Regions from separate parts of the Homo sapiens genome. Here region 1 is linked to region 2. The links are contacts of gene promoters, found by promoter capture Hi-C in blood cells and fetal thymus (Javierre and others, 2016). All regions are on one chromosome and are shown on one strand. The core of a region is centred on a gene start or on the middle of the fragment in contact, and the rest is flanking DNA. Distances in the headings are between cores, read along the strand shown.

What was found. Contacts are between HindIII fragments. The CHiCAGO score rates a contact against its expected background, and 5 or more counts as called.
Region 1: the fragment with the promoter of CDK5RAP3 here is called in contact with the fragment with the promoter of LINC02086 in region 2 in 4 of 17 cell types (non-activated CD4 T cells, naive CD8 T cells, neutrophils and 1 more); the score reaches 6.2 in non-activated CD4 T cells.

The regions. Positions count from the first base shown.
Region 1 is chr17:47,967,688-47,972,709 of GRCh38, reverse strand. CDK5RAP3 (CDK5 regulatory subunit associated protein 3) reads right to left here and starts at 1,597. Exons shown (of 14, transcript NM_176096.3): 1 at 1,558-1,597; 2 at 1,303-1,348. The coding sequence starts at 1,563. RefSeq lists an enhancer at 608-1,235 and a silencer at 1,657-1,946. The HindIII fragment of the contact is 1,666 bases long and covers 591-2,256 here.
Region 2 is chr17:48,638,541-48,643,994 of GRCh38, reverse strand. It overlaps LINC02086 (long intergenic non-protein coding RNA 2086), which reads right to left and starts at 1,368. Exons shown (of 8, transcript NR_189645.1): 1 at 1-1,368. All of the region lies in intron 1 of LINC03057 (long intergenic non-protein coding RNA 3057), which reads left to right. RefSeq lists enhancers at 774-1,770, 1,771-2,769. The HindIII fragment of the contact is 12,737 bases long and covers 1-5,454 here.

The sequences.
Region 1 (5,022 bases), core at 348-2,847, 670 kb after region 2:
ATGTCAAGTGCCTAAAACAGCACCTGGTACAAAAAAAAACCCTCAATGAATGGTGGTCATTTTATTGGTCCTTTTCATGACCAAGAACAAGCTCACACACCAAGACTGCACATGGGCTGAAGGGCCAGTACAAATCTGAAGGGAGGCTAAAGAAGCTTCCCCCGTGACCACCAAGCAGGACTGACTAAATGGCACTACAGAGTGGTGAATTCAGAACTTGAACTCTGCCAACCGGTCAAACGCTGGGGTCCCACACTAGTATCAGTTATACTCTCTCTGCTATATTCCTGTAAAGTTTTCAGAAAGAAAAATTCTGTTGATGTCACAGAACTAGAAGCAACGGACTGGGGTAGTCAAACAGACACCATCTTAAGGACAAGATTGGCATCAAATCCATGAATCCAATAAGCATTTTAAAATGCCAGGAGCTGTGTGATCAGATGAAGAGGCCTTCCCTGACTATGAACTGGGGAGGAAGTATGTAAGCCCCATACAGACAACCTGGAGATGGCCTGGACACTAAAAGGTTTTCATTTGCAACTGGGTCTTAGGTCCCTCTTCCTCCTAAAATCAAGGGGGAGGTGGAAGCTTTTTAAATGAGGTTTTTTTTTTTTTTCCTGGCATAATGCAAAAGGCATGGACAGTGGGTCAGACAGACTTAAGTTCCAATTCAGATGTGCCACTTAGTGGTTGACTGTTTTTTGTCTTCTTTTTGAGATGGAGTTTCGCTCTCGTTGCCCAGGCTGGAGTGCAATAGTGAGATCTCTGCTCACCGCAACCTCTGCCTCCGGGGTTCAAGCAATTCTCCCACCTCAGCCTCCCGAGTAGCTGGGATTACAGGCATGTGCTCCCATGCCCGGCTACTTTTTATTTTTATTTTTTTGTATTTTTAGTCATGGAGACATGGAGACAAGGTTTCTCCATGTTGGTCAGGCTGGTCTCGAACTCCTGACCTCAGGTGATTCGCCCACCTCGGCCTCCCAAAGTGCTGGGATTACAGGCATGAGCCACCGCGCCCGGCAGTGGTTGACTGTTTTTAAAGCGAGTCATTTATCCTGTCCCTGAATGATACGATAACATATGTTATTAAAGGAGAAAACGCAGGTCAAACAGACTGTACATATGGTTCGTTCCCGCTGCTATCAGGGAAGCAGGTCTGGCCACAGATGGGGCATAGAACGAGGCCAGTGGTCAGCATCTCGACTCAGGCTTTCAGGGGTCAGAGCTCCCGGCTATTGGACACAGGGGGCAACGCACAGGCCTCCCCCCGACAGCCAGCTGCGCGGTGGCGCCCCCTCCTACCGAGCAGCTTGCTGGTCTGGATGTCGATGGGCACGTGCTGATGGTCCTGGCGGGAAACACGGTGAGGAGGGGGGCGTGAGCGCGGAGAGAGGACGTACCACTCGCGCGCTCATTTCAACGTCCCAACCACCACCCTGCAGGGCCAGAACGGGGCCAGAGCGATGGGCTGGGTTGAGCCGCTTCCGGAGGGAGACCGGAGACACAGGTTAGGGGTCCGCGGCCAGTCCCCAGCACACCCAGCTCCTGTCCCCACACCTCCATCTTTCCTCCACTTCCGCTTCAGGCTGGAGACTGTGGCCCGCCCCGCCCTACCACCAATCCAGTGGCGTTGTGGCCGAGCCTCCGTTTAGACACAAACGGGCATCCTTCGGCCACGTCGCCGCCTTCCGTACAGCCAATCAGGGTTTACGCTCCACTCAGGCCTCAAGCCCCGCCCACCCCAGGCTCCGAATGGCTGAGCTCGGGAGGGGCGGGAGAATGGAGACAGCCAATTGGAGACGCGAGGCGGGCTCAGGGCAGGGGACGGGAGGGGGTGCGCTGCAGCGGCCGTGGGATTGCGACAGGCGGCGCTCGAGAGCCCAGCCTGGCAGCCGCTTCCCCTGGCGGGCACTGGGTCTTCTCCACGCAGATTGAGACGTCTGCTGGCGGGGTCCTAGCGCCGATCTGGGAGGCCGTTGCAAATACCTTCTTCCCTCCTTGCGTCGCTTTACCATCCAGAGCAGTGTGCAGGTCTCTTGTGGCACTTGTCATGCTTTGCCTCCTCATTCAGTTTCTCTAATAGACATGGTTGAGCACCTGCAACGTGTTGGGCGATTAGGGCAGGGAAGGGGAAGGAAGAGAGTCGGTGAGACGTCCCAAAGAGAACACCTACATTGAGTCTAAACGAAGAGCTGAAGATAGCTGGGTGATGTGGGAAGAGGAGTTTTAGGTGGAGGAGACTACACAGACAAAGCTTAGGTGGCCACAAACTGCAAGAGGGGTGCAAGCAACAACAGGCAGGCAGGACGGGCAACGTAATTTGTGAGGTCCAGTGCAAAATGGAAATGCACAGCTGCTTGTTACAAAATGATGAAGAATTTCAAGATGAAGTCGGCTCCGCGGGCAGGCCAACCTCTATACCGTAGATGGTTTGAGGCAGCGAGTGGCTAGAGGAGAGGCTGTAAGGGTGGAAAGGCCATATCAAAGGGAGACTTATTAAGGAACTTGGACTTCATCCCTTCAGACAGAGGAATCACAGAAGGGGTTTGAGGCAGGGAGGAACCTGTACAGATAGGCTGCTGGGATGATGGATGCATGGGAGATAAGACTGGGGACAAGGAGGCTGGAAGGAGGTTGTTATCGAGGGATTATAGCCTGAGCTGGGACACAAGATATGAGGAGGAAGGGGAAGGGCTGGATCTGAGGAATATTTAGGAGGAAAATGTATAGGACTTGGCAATTGATTGGCTGTTTGGGTGGAGGAGAGAGACACTAAGGATGACACCTAGGTGATTAGGTGGGAACCACCACCTGAGACAGGGATGCAGGATGCTGAGCAGGTGTTGGGGAGGAGGGGGTCTAGCTTTGAACCTAGTCTGGCAATGCTGGGAGACCCCCAGATGGAAAGTGTGCAGAAGGCACTTGGGTCTATAATTTTGGAGTTCGAGGGAGTTGTCGGGGCTGGAGATACAGCTTGGAGAGTCACAAGCTGGCTAATCTGTGGTCCGAGTGGTGGCTGAAGCTAAGGGAGAGTCTGAGATTGGCCAAGAAGTGGGTAGAGTAAGGAGGGAGGGTAGGCTGAGGCCAGATCCCCCAGGATCTCACAGCGCTGGGTATGCCTTTTCTTTTTTTTTTTTTTTTTTTTTTTTTTTTGAGACGGAGTCACGCTCTGTCGCCCGGGCTGGAGTGCAGTGACACGATCTCGGCTCACTGCAAGCTCTGCCTCCTGGGTTCACGCCATTCTCCTGCCTCAGCCTCCCCAGTAGCTGGGACTACAGGCGCCCGCCACCACGCCCGGCTAATTTTTTTGTATTTTTAGTAGAGACGAGGTCTCACCGTGTTAGCCAGGATGGTCTCGATTTCCTGACCTCGTGATTCTCCCGCTTCAGCCTCCTAAAGTGCTGGGATTACAGGCGTGAGCCACCGCGCCCGGCCCTGGGTATGCCATTTCTAAATATTCCTTCCCCAGCTCCTGTTCACCACAGCACAACACTTGAGGCTTAGTAAATTTTTGATTGAAATGCATAGTGTGATACAGCAGCAGGAAGACCTAGATTCTGCCCAGTGAGGTCTTGGACCATTTCTATAACCTATCTGATAGCCACAGTTTCCCCACATGGAGATAACAGCTATCCTATCTCAGGGTATTTCTGTTTAGAGGCTTAAATAAACACACTAGTAACTCATGACAGTTTACAACATACTGTGGCTGTATTTCTCATGCTTTGTAAACTCTCCCTATATGAAATATCATATATGGGCCAGGCGCGGTGGCTCACGCCTGTAATCCCAGCACTTTTGGGAGGCTGAGACAGGCGGATCACCTAAGGTCAGGAATTCGAGACCAGCCTGATCAACATGGTGAAATCCCATCTCTGAAAAAAACAAAAAACACGCTGGGCACGGTGGCTCACGCCTGTAATCTCGGCACTTTGGGATGCTGAGGCGGGTGGATCACGAGGTCAGGAGTTTGAGACCAGCCTGATCAACATGGTGAAACCCTGTCTCTACTAAAAATACAAAAATTAGCTGGGCGTGGTGGCGTACGCCTGTAATCCCAGCTACTCAGGAAGCTGAGGCAGGAGAACTGCTTGAACCCGGGAGGCGGAGGTTGCAGTGAGCCGATATTGCGCCACCGCACTCCAGCCTGGGCGACAGAGTGAGACTCCATCTCAAAAACAAAACAAAACAAAAAACAAACAAACAAACAAAAACAAAAACCATCCCGGCGTGGTGGTGCATGCCTGCAGTCCCAGCTACTCAGCTACTCGGGAGGCTGCGGCGGAAGAATCACCTGAACTTGGGAGGCGGAGGTTGCAATGAGCCCAGATTGCGCCACTGCACTCCAGCCTGGGCAACAGAGTGAGACTCCATCTCAAAATATATATATATGTCATATATGATCATTATTATTATAGAACGGATTGAAAAACTGCTCTGAAAATGGCTCATAGAGCTGAATTAAGGGCCTTTTCAGGGATCTTTCATGGGAATTTGGCTCCCATCTGAGTCAGCCTGACTCAGACTGTAGGAATTGCTCAGGCTCCTCCATGATTAAACACACACTTAACTGGGCCCCAACTATGTGCTCGGGGCTGTCTGGGACATCTCAAGAGCAAGGCACTGCCCTGCCCTCAAGGTGTATCTATCTCTCTTCCTTGAACCAACAGGCTGGGCAGAACAGGACAGGGTGGGTCTGGAAGACCCAGCCCAGGTGAGTTGATGGAAGCAGGGACCACCAGCACTTCAGCCCCACCCACAGCTCCCCAAGGTGACTCACGTGGAGCAGAAGGATGTTTGAGAACAGTTCTGCCCAGCTACTGACTCCAGGGAGGCTGTCCCAAAGCCAGAGGCTCTGGGAGAGAACCTGCCTCTGCTGACTGCAGAGGCTCTGGGGGAGAGCCTGCCAAAGGCACATGCTTCTGTGTTCCCAAAGAGTGTAGGAGCATGGGCCTTTGGCGGGTTTCTGCACTTTTCCAAGGCCACAGGGAACTTCAGGGTCTGTGGGTAGATAAGCACATA
Region 2 (5,454 bases), core at 119-2,618:
GGGGTCCAGCACTAAATGTCTAGAGAGCTAGATCTGGGGCCTCTCACCCCCTTTCCTCATATACCTCCTCTTGCTTCCTTCCCCTCCCAGGGCTTCTCAGAAAGTGACAGCTGACTTCCTTTTAGAACTGTGAAATCCCACAATTTCAGAGGATTTCAAATTCCTTGAACTTCAGGTTGAGAGCTATTTGGATTAATCAGAGAAGTTTGTGTCTGGAAAATGATGCCAGATTTAGCCAGAAAACTGAAAGACCAAATGCTTTACTTTTTTTTTCCTTTGTCTGATCTCAGTGCTTATCAGGTCAACCTTCACCTTTAAAAACACCCTGGTGGCAGTATTTCTTTGCCATCACTGTCTGTAAAGCAAAGGGCAAGCATCTCAGGGCTTTTAGTTGGGCCGGGAATTCAAATGTCTCCTTTCTCAAGAAGATGCCAAAGTGGCCACCCTCAGCCCACTTTCCGTCCTTACCTCCTCTGCCCTTTCCCCAGCTGTAGTTATAGGAATAATGGCCTTTAACTTGCAGAGATCATTAAGGCCAAAGCCCTCACTCCTTCCCATCTCTCCTCTTGGGGCCGTCTGAGTCGCTTCCTCCACGACCCTCCTCTTTTGAAGCACTCCCTAGTACTGTTAAAGGCCGAATTTGGGCTGGAGCGAAGATGGGGGCTCAGTCCAAAATAACCTAGATATTAAGTAATAGTAATGATTTTTTTAAAAGGTAACTATGAACTCTCAAGCCTCGACCACCCAGTAAAGTTCCTCCTTAAATTGTTGCCGGCCCTGGGTGCAGACACGCAAGGACTGGCCAGAACGCGAGAAACTTCTTCAAGGAGAGAGAAGTCAGGGCCCAAATTCCTCATGCTTTAAAGCAGTATAAGAGGAGAGAGTCCAAATTTTTACTCGTTAAACCTCCTCTTACCTCTTCCTCAGGTCTGTTCACTCCTTGGTCCAGGGACCGGAGCTCCTGGGCTTCGAGGTGAACCAGAGGGAACGTGGCTCCCCGCAGCAACCTTTTTGCTTCAGGGCTCCTCCTGGGGGCTGAGTGGTCCCCTTTGCTTTGCTATTCCCGCTGCGGCTCCTGGGGGGACAGCTCCGTGGGACCAGGTCTCTCAGGGGGTGGAGGGTCGCCGAAGTCGTGACCAGGAGTTGGAGACCGCTGCGTCCCTCCGCTGCGGACCTGCCTGGGACTGCGTGGAATGGACCAAGTCCTCCGTCTAGGATTCCCTAGTGCTCGACGGCGCGCACTCCGCAGTGCTCCGCTGGAGATCTGCACCTGTGTCCCGGGGCTGGGCGCAGAGTGAAGATCTCCGTGCACGCTGCTGACCGGCTCGGCGACTGCCTCCCTGCTGTGAGCAGGAGAACAGGAAGTCTGCCCGACAGGGAGGTGGCCGGGCGGGAGCGGCAGAGTCGGCGTTGAGAGGAGGGTCAGCTGCACCTCGGGATTCCGCGCGCCTTCAACTCCCTCTTGCGGACAGCCCAGCCGCGGGTTGGCGCCGCAGTGATGGAACCTGGGGAGGGCCTAGCTTAGAGTCCCAGCAGTCCAGAGGAGGGGACCAGAGCAGAGGATTAGGAACGGGGCTTTCATATCCAGCCTAGGCGCCCAGAAGCGGCACTTAAGGGGCGAAGGGAGGCCGCAATTACAAAGGTGCGCCCTCCGACGCCTCAACGTCAAGGGCCTGTAGATTCACAACCTCCTCTGTCGGGGATGGGGGAAGATGAGGTGGGATAGGGAGGCTATGTCCAGCCACCAGCGCAGGGAGTGGCTCTAAACGCTGACCCAACGCCTCGCCCCAAGCGGGATCTTGGCGCGCAGATAGACCGAGCCCGTGGTGGGGCGCCATGCCGGGCTCCCTCGCCCTTACCGAGTGAGCATCTTCTTCCCAATTTGCTGCTCAGAGAGGGAGTGGGTCCTAGTCTCTGGATCTCAGCGCTCACGACTACCTCGCTGCTCCTAACGAACGGTTCATCTGCTCTCTCCTGGCCGCCTGCGCCAGCGCCGCTCACCCACTTTTCCAGCCCTGGATCTCCTCTCCCCGGATGCGTCCTTCCTTCCCACAATTAACAAATGATCTAGCGAAACCCCGCCAGGTCCCCGGCAGAGAAGCACCTCCATCCGCCCTAACCAACCAATTAATCAGATCATTAAGGAGCCTGAGGAGTTGTAATTGGGTGGTTTGGGACGAGGGGGCGCTGAGGAGGTCATTAACCTCCCCGTAAAGATGGGGAACGGAGACGCGCCTGGCCGCCTCTGCCGCCCCTGCCGCCCCTGCCGCCCCTGTGGGCTCTTCTTAGCACGCGGGTTTTGGCCACTCCACCTGCCTGCTGCGCTCCAGTTCCCGCCTCCAGTCCAGCTATTTCACTTCTCTCTTTGTCATTCTCCGTCTTTTCTCTGGCAACCGTCCAGGGCCCCTTTCTTTGTGCCTACTTCTGTCTACCTGTCCAGCTGCCTCTTGCACCCTTTCTGTGGCCCAGCGGCCAAGAAAACTCAAAGGTCATGGCTGTTGGCCCCCGCTGATGATCTCTGGGCTCCCGGGTCTCAGACAATTCCTCAGGGCTGGCTAGAAATGGTGGGAGCTGGAGATTTGGACACTATACCCATTCCCCAAGAGAAGGGCATTTGCAAAGGGGAAGTGTTTCCTGAAACGTTCAATTCTCTTTCGGTATGAGATAGCTTTGGACAAGGTGACAAATGGCGGAAGGTCCAGGCCCCAGTGGATAAAAGCTCCATATTAATTTAATTAGAGACACAGAGACCTTGCATACTCCTTGTCTGCACAGGCAAATATGGAGGAGGTAGTGATTGGGTGTTGTGGCCTGACTGGTCTCAGTCTAAGAGTCCCCAGCACCTGTGACCTGGTTCCTGGTGTTCCAAGAAGTCCAGGTGACAGTATCTGTTCAACCTTGTGGAACAATAAATTGTTTGTCCTTTTAATTTGTCTTGTCAGATCCCCAAGTATATTACAATGCCTCCCTCTGCATTACATTTTTGGTTGGTTGTGTAAGAATGGTGGATGAGAGGTTCTTAACATTTTGGGGCCACTCCCTGATATGATAATTTAAATTTTGATGAACAATATTGATTCCCCTCTACCCAGAAAAAAAATGTGCGTATGTAGTACTCACCAAATCCCACAATTTCAGAGAGTTTCAGACTCCTCAGACACCAAGTTAACAACTACAATTTGGATAGATCAAAGGAGCTGGTGTCTGGGAAATGCCGAGGCCAAATATAGTCAGTTTACGTAGGTCTTCACCCTTTCTCTTGGCTGACATCTCCATTTTGCCAGGCCAGCCTTCACCTGTAAAAACACTCCGGTGGCAGTGTCCTCTCCCCACCATTACCTGTAGGGTCTGGGCTCCCAGTGGGAGTCAGTCTTTCCTTCCCAGCAGCTGGGAGCCTGAGAACGTGGGAAGAGCTTTGCTGGGGAAAGCTGATCTTAGACTGGCCAGCAGTTGGACCAGCAATGGAAGGAAATCAGGCTTAAGCAGCTTCCCAGGGACTAAAAACCATACCAGAACTCCTGGAAGGGAAGACTATCTGGAAACAGCCTCCTAACTAAAGCTGCCTATAAGTCAAGCAAATGGGGACTGGGCAATAGAATGTTCCTTTGTGTCCCTTATTGACTCACTTATTCCATTTCCTCAGGGACCCAGCTCTACTTGGGGCTGATTTAGCCAAGGTTAGAGGCTGGGGAATACCAAATGCTGAACTTAAAGGGGAAGGATTTGCTCCCTAATATTTTAGTAATCTTGTTTGTAAGAGATAAACAGCATGTGACCCCTGACTATCCTGGGGGACCTCCTAATTACGCCCAGCCTCTTGTGTTGTGGCCTGTTTAGACACAGAGTGTAAAGAAGGACTTAGCTCTTCTTTCCCGGCCTATTAAGTTTCCTGGCCATCTCCCCACATGTGTGAATTGACCAAGCTAGATCTCCCAGGAGAAAAATCAGGCTTCTTTGGGGTCTGGGAAGTAAAAAGAAACTTCCTTTTTCAAGGACTATGTTAAGACAAATTAGGAGAACTGGAAATTATCTGGCTAATTGTACCCTCCCCCTCCATACATACTTACACTCCAAACCCAAGCCCTCCTGGCTGCTCCTCAATTGTCTATACATTTCAAACAAATGTGACTTGGCACAGGAAAGACTCCAACTCATTTCTAGTTGCCCCTCTCTGTGCTGCACAACCACCACCCACCTGCCCAGCAGTTCGAGGCTGTGACAAGAAGCCAATGGTTGGCTAATAGTATTCAGACCCCTGCCTGAAAATACAAAGAAAAAAATAAACAATTCTCTTCTTGGGACAGCTTAAACTGGATAATCTTGGCTGTGAAAACCTGACCTAAATGCTTTTAATCAGAGCAGAAGAAATATATGCTCATTTGCTCCCTACTTTACTAATTAAAGAAAGCTAATTGGTGTTCTCAGAAACTTCCAACTGAGGGTCAGGAGCCTCTAGCCATCTCTTTGCCTGCCCCACCCCTCCCTGCACTGGGCCATCTGCACCATGGAGTTGGCCTTTTTCTGATAGACAATTAGAAGGGGGTGCTCCCGACCTTCTGGCTCCGCCCCTGCACTAGGACTTGGCCCTGAAAAGGCAGTGCTGCTATTGGCCAGAAGTTCTTGCCCAGCAGGCTTGTCTTCCTTCTTGTGTCCTGGACTTGTTTCTAGGAGCCAAGACCTCTTGCTGGCTGCCACATCGGCACTGCCAACCGGTGGGGTGCAGCCCTGCTGAAGCCCCAGAGCTCAGCCCAGTGCTGGGCACATAGTAGGCGCTCAGGAAATGATTGCTGAATGTGGAATGAAAGTCCCCAGCAGGCAAAAGGCTGTGACTTCTGTTAGTGGGGTGGTGGTCCTCTGGGGCGAGTGTATGGAGAACTTCAAGGCCTCCTCCTGGCTGCCCAGGAAGTAGGTAAGACCTGATTTTTGTCAAGCGTTTCTTAGATGTTTTGTTTAATTCCAGCTTCGTGGCCCCCTATTTCTTGTCTACCCATTTTCTAAGGCAGGACCGTGCTCACCACAGCAAAGGGAAATAACTCCTTGAAAAGCCAAAGGAATACAAGCCACCACTTCTCAGACCTTTCCCCTATGAGATCCAGATACTACAGGCTAAAGGGAGTTTGAACCTGAAATGAGCCAGATAATTGCCCCAATTCTCTGTACCTTATTGAAGAGGTAGTTACAGGCCAAGGGGTCCAAGGGGCCTCACTTTTATAGACATTGCTCTAAGTCAAAAGAATACATTATACATATACAGCTGAGACACACACCCTCCGTCCTAGGCTGGCTCTCTGTGAACAAAGCAGGTTTCCTCCTTGCCACTCACCCCCACCCCCCATACCACTTTCCCCCTCCTCTTTTCTCTTCGTCCTCCTCCTTATTATTAATAGTTACTATTTACTAAATGCTGCCTGTGCACCTGGTATTGTGCTAAATGCTAGACACATAGTACATCAT